Regions from separate parts of the Homo sapiens genome. Here region 2 is linked to region 1. The links are contacts of gene promoters, found by promoter capture Hi-C in human tissues and cell types (Jung and others, 2019). All regions are on one chromosome and are shown on one strand. Each heading gives the region's core, a stretch centred on a gene start or on the middle of the fragment in contact. The rest is flanking DNA. Distances are from core to core; before and after follow the strand shown.

Region 1 (2,655 bases), core at 41-2,540:
ATGTTGGCCAGGCTGGTCTCGAACTCCTGACCTCAGGTGATCCACCTGCCTCGGCCTCCCAACGTGTTGGGATTATAGGCGTGAGCCACTGCGCCCAGCCAACTCAAGTTTTAGAACTCTATATGCTGGATATTTTCAGTCGTTTACTTTACCAGATGTATTTCCCCTATTAATCGTTTTTTTCCTATCCACTTTTCTATTTCTTCAAACCATATCAGTTTCAGTCTCATATCTTTGTAGTAATCATTGGTTACTCTCTCTTCTGTCACTTCTGATCAGTTATCAAGTCTTTCGTCTTTTACTTTAAATATACTTCATTTCCACTCAATGGTCAATCATCCCATTTTAATCCACTATCGCAGAGTGCTGGAATTATTTCAATAGCTCCTCTCTGCCTGACCACTTCCTCTCCCTCCTTAGGTGATAATCTTTTTTTCTTGTTTGAGACGGAGTCTCGCTCTGTCGCCCAGGCTGGAGTGCAGTGGCGCGATCTCGGTTCACTGCAAGCTCCGCCTCCCGGGTTCACGCCATTCTCCTGCCTCAGCCTCCCGAGTAGCTGGGACTACAAGCGCCCGCCACCATGCCCAGCTAATTTTTTTGTATTTTTAGTAGAGACAGGGTTTCACCGTGTTAGCCAGGATGGTCTCCATCTCCTGACCTTGTGATCCACCCGCCTCGGCCTCCCAAAGTGCTGGGATTACAGGCGTGAGCCACCGCGCCCGGCCGGTGATAATCTTTTAAACAGAGGACTGTGATGAAACATGGTGCTAGGTGAGCAAGATAACTTAGGATATCTTTCTTTTGTGTTAGATGAAGTGAAGAAGGGAGGGTGTTGACCCTCCTGGATGAAGTGATGAAGCCCTGAACTGTGGCAATGATGCCGGAGAAGGATGTAAAAATCGTAAAGTCGACTGGTGACCAATTAGAGCTGGAAGGACTTACCCACGCTAACACCTCCCAAATATGGGAGTATTTTACTACCATAAATGAAATACATCAAGTGAATTTTTGCTAAGCGAGCAATACCCGCGCTTCGGTAAGAACTGTCACGCTTAGAGCGGGCCAACCAGCTTCCACCATCCAGATGGCGGATCCTAGATTGGCAGCCTGCGTCTCTCTAGCTACCGTCTCTATGGTTCGGGGAATCTCCAGGTCGGGGCTTGACCGGTCCGACTTTTGCGCGTGCGCGAGTCCTGGCGCGTGCCCGCCCTCAAGCAACTGTCCGACCCAGCGGGTGGGAGGGGTGGGTCTGGGAACGTTGCGGCGGCTGTCGCCGCGGCCCCAGCACCCAGAGCTGTTCTCTGGCCAAGCCTGCGCCTGTAGTCCTTCTTTGCCTCCTGGGGCGGCCGCCACCCACCCCCAGATGGTGGGTCCGGAGGATGCCGGAGCCTGCTCGGGAAGAAACCCCAAGTTGCTCCCGGTGCCTGCGCCGGACCCCGTGGGCCAGGACAGGAAGGTAATCCGGGCCACGGGCGGCTTTGGCGGAGGCGTCGGCGCTGTGGAGCCGCCGGAGGAGGCTGACGAGGAGGAGGAGGCTGACGAGGAGGAGGAGACGCCGCCTCGGCAGCTCCTTCAGCGTTACCTCGCGGCGGCCGGGGAGCAGCTGGAGCCGGGGCTCTGCTACTGTCCGCTCCCCGCTGGCCAGGCCGGCGCCCCGCCGCCCTCGGCAGCCCCACGATCGGACGCCTGCCTGCTGGGCTCGGGCTCCAAACACCGCGGCGCGGAGGTGGCTGATGGCCGCGCGCCGCGGCACGAAGGCATGACCAACGGCGACTCGGGTTTTCTGCCGGGCCGGGACTGTCGCGATCTGGAAGAGGCTCGCGGGCTGGCGCGCGCCGGCGGCCGGGAGTCGCGCCGCCGCCGCCCCTACGGCCGCCTTCGCCTGGAGGGGCCTGGCGACGAGGACGCGGACGGCGCGGGAAGCCCGTCCGATTGGGCCTCTCCGCTTGAGGACCCGCTGCGGAGCTGCTGCCTGGTGGCCGCGGACGCCCAGGAGCCCGAGGGCGCGGGCAGCGACTCGGGGGACAGCCCCGCCAGCAGCTGCAGCAGTAGCGAGGACTCAGAGCAGCGGGGAGTCGGCGCCGGGGGTCCCGAGGAGGGCGCGCCCCCTGCCACCTCGGCCGAGAGGACTAATGGGGGTGCGGAGCCGCGCCTGGGCTTTTCTGACATTCACTTCAACTCTCGCAACACGTTCCAGGTGAGCCGCGGTCAGAGCGCCCGCGATCACCTGCCCCCGGCGGGGCCGCCGGTGCCCTTGCCCGCCGCGGAGCAGGGTCCTGCGGGGGCTTCGGCCCGGGCTCGACGGAGTGGCGGCTTCGCGGACTTCTTCACCAGGTACAGCGCAGGCTGCATGGGACTCGGGGCGGGTCCGGGGCCGGGGCCGGAGCCGGGGTCTTGGTGGGAGTCGGAGCCGGAGCCGGAGCCGGAGCGGAGAGCTTGGTCGGCCGCTTCCGTGCCAGCCCCACACGCGTCAGGACTTAGCTTTGATTTGTCACTGGAGGAAGAGGAACTGGGTCGGCTTTGTGTTTCTATAGGAGAAGTTGTGAGCTCTGTGGACAGCGAGTCTTTCTGTTGCCTTGTCCGCGGGAGGCTGTACCTGCCATTCATACCTGGCTTCTGAGCAGTCAGGTTGGGCCAGCTGTCTAGTGCCACATA
Region 2 (2,655 bases), core at 102-2,601, 63 kb before region 1:
AAACTCCACTTCCCTGAGATTCACTGTCAAGCAGTAGATCTGTTTTGGGGAAAGTCTGCAAAAATGTCACATAAAAAGAATTGGTTAAATTAACATTGTTAATATAAGAGGTGTTACTGGTTTGTAGTTGTATTTGCATTTAAATTTATGGTTGTATAAGAGCTTTGCATAAAGTCTTTACACCTAGATTTAATAAAAAACAATTTAAGTTTATATAGTAAGAACAAGAGTTGCAAAAAAAAATTTTATCTTTGCTTGCTTTGAAAATTAATTTTATCTTGCAAAAGAAAAAAATATGCTTCTCACCTTGCAATCACACTTTTAGAAATCTGATAGAAATAATTACATCAGATAAATACATAAAGATATTCACTATAGCATCATTTGTAATAGCAAAAAAAGAAATAACCTATATCAAGAGAAATAGAAAGAAGCAGAAAAACCAGACTGCCTACATTTGAATATCACTTCTACCACTGACTGGCACTGCTACTCAAGCCAAGACACTTAACCTCTCTGGACCTCAGTTTTCCCACATGTACAATAGGAACAAGAATAGTAGCTACCTCAGAGTTATGAAAATTAAATTTTTGTAAGGCATTTATAACTGGAAGGCACATAGTCAGAACTATGGTGTTTGTTAAGCAAAGAATTAAATAAACCTTACATAAAGAGAGTAGTGACATTATAATGTGTTTACCATGATTAAATGCTAAGGTTAAAAAAGTGGTAGAATATATAGCATAATCCTCTTTCCATTAAAATACAAAGTTGAGTTGTTTCTATGTGTATGTGTTTATATATGAACTTTAAAAGGCTGCTGGAAAAATACCCACCAAATGGTAAATGGATACCCACCTAATGACACTGAGAAGTGTCAATAGGTATAAAATGCTTTTTTTCAATTTTATATACCTCTTTTGTCACCTGATTTTGTTACAAGTGTGAATTACTTCTGTAATTGAAATAATATAAAAGGGGGGAAAAGACATGCCTCAAACAAAAAAAATCATTGCATTATAAGAACTTAGCTCTGTTCATTTGTATCACTACTTACATGCATTAATATTCTGGTAGTTGCTAAAATGCCAATACTTGAATTTGGAAGAACATGAAGAGCAAGGGTACAAAGGCGTTTGATGAAGGCAAGAGCTCGCTGCTGAGAAACTTGCTTTCTGCGCTTAGTTAGCATGACATCAAGGCACTGGAGTACAATCTCAACACCTTCATTGGTAGCACCTAAAACAGCAGACATATTCTTCAGAGCTGTTCTCATTACTTTTTCATTACGCAACTGGACTGAACTTCAGATAAACCCAAGATAAACTTTTGTACCTGTCCCAAACCATTTCTCTAATCAATGAGGTAGTGCTATACTGCTAAGGAGATACAGCGGGCTATACTTACTGCATCTCCAGTCAATTCCAGAAGCTCTTTCTCCAAGTCTTACATAAGATTAAATACAGATGCATGGCACTGGAAAGTCACCATTTTATGTACCTGTTCCTATTTCTCATTTGTCTACAATGATGGGTCATAACATATTCTTAAAACATAAATACATATAAAAGAAACATTATCTAAACATACATACCTGCATGTAATTTGAACAGTGTTTTGTAGAGATGTGTGTAGAATTTCAATGGATCAATATTCAGAACATCACCTTTGAAATGACAACAAACACCAATTAGGTATGTTATAGCATTCAAAGGTAAGGCAAACAAAACTTGATTAAGAAAATATCATACCTTGTCCAGAAAGAATATGAAAAGCAGTCTGGACACAGTGAAGACTTTCTTGATAGCTTAGGTCCTTTAAAAAAAAAAGGGGGGGGTGAGGGGGATGGAATATTAAGAATGGTAATTGCCATTTATAGCTTTAAAAAAGAACTTTAAGGCCAGGAGCAAAGACTCAAGCCTGTAATCCCAGCAATTTGGGAGGCTGAGGCAGGCAGATCATTTGAGCCCAGGAGTTCAAGACCAGCTTGGGCAACATGGCAAAAACCCATCTCTCAGGGCCGGGCGCGGTGGCTCACGCCTGCAATCCCAGCACTTCAGGAGGCCGAGGCGGGCAGATCACGAGGTCAGGAGATCAAGACCATCCTGGCTAACACGGTGAAACCCTGTCTCTACTAAAAATACAAAAAATTAACCGGGCATGGTGGTGGGCGCCTGTAGTCCCAGCTACTCGGGAGGCTGAGGCAGGAGAATGGTGTGAACCCGGGAGGCGGAGCTTGCAGTGAGCCGAGATCACGCCACTGCACTCCAGCCTGGGTGACAGAGCAAGACTCCCTCTCAAAAAAAAAAAAAAAAAAAATTTCTACAAAAAAATAGAAAAATTAGCCAGGTATGGTGCCCCACATCTGTAGTCCCAGCTACTCAAAAGGCTAAAGTGGGAGGATCACCTGAGCCCTGGAAGGTCAAGGCTGCAGTGAGCTGTGATTGCACCACTGCACTCCGGCCTGGGCAACTGAGTGAGACCCTATCTCAAAAAAGAAAAAAAAGACCTATAAAGGTTATCTTTAAGATAACCTAGTATGAGGCAGATTTACAGGGTGACTATAGTTTACAATAATCTATTATCTATTTCAAAATAGCTAGGAGGGAAGAATTTGAATGGTTGTCACATAAAGACACATATTTAAGGTGACTG

What was found. The method cuts DNA at HindIII sites, captures the fragments that hold promoters and counts their contacts. A contact is called where the count stands out against the background at its distance.
Region 2: a fragment that was not itself captured here is called in contact with the fragment with the promoter of TBC1D12 in region 1 in 1 of the 25 tissues and cell types used here (ovary).

Annotation. Positions count from the first base shown.
Region 1 is chr10:94,401,251-94,403,905 of GRCh38, forward strand. TBC1D12 (TBC1 domain family member 12) reads left to right here and starts at 1,291. Exons shown (of 13, transcript NM_015188.2): 1 at 1,291-2,334. The coding sequence starts at 1,364. RefSeq lists enhancers at 1,039-1,198, 2,499-2,655 and silencers at 1,529-2,018, 2,089-2,418. The HindIII fragment of the contact is 13,183 bases long and covers 1-2,655 here.
Region 2 is chr10:94,338,682-94,341,336 of GRCh38, forward strand. NOC3L (NOC3 like DNA replication regulator) reads right to left here. Exons shown (of 21, transcript NM_022451.11): 15 at 1,752-1,815; 16 at 1,595-1,666; 17 at 1,058-1,239; 18 at 1-55. Among named protein-coding and RNA genes, the nearest start is that of NOC3L, 23 kb to the right of the region's middle. The HindIII fragment of the contact is 6,628 bases long and covers 1-2,655 here.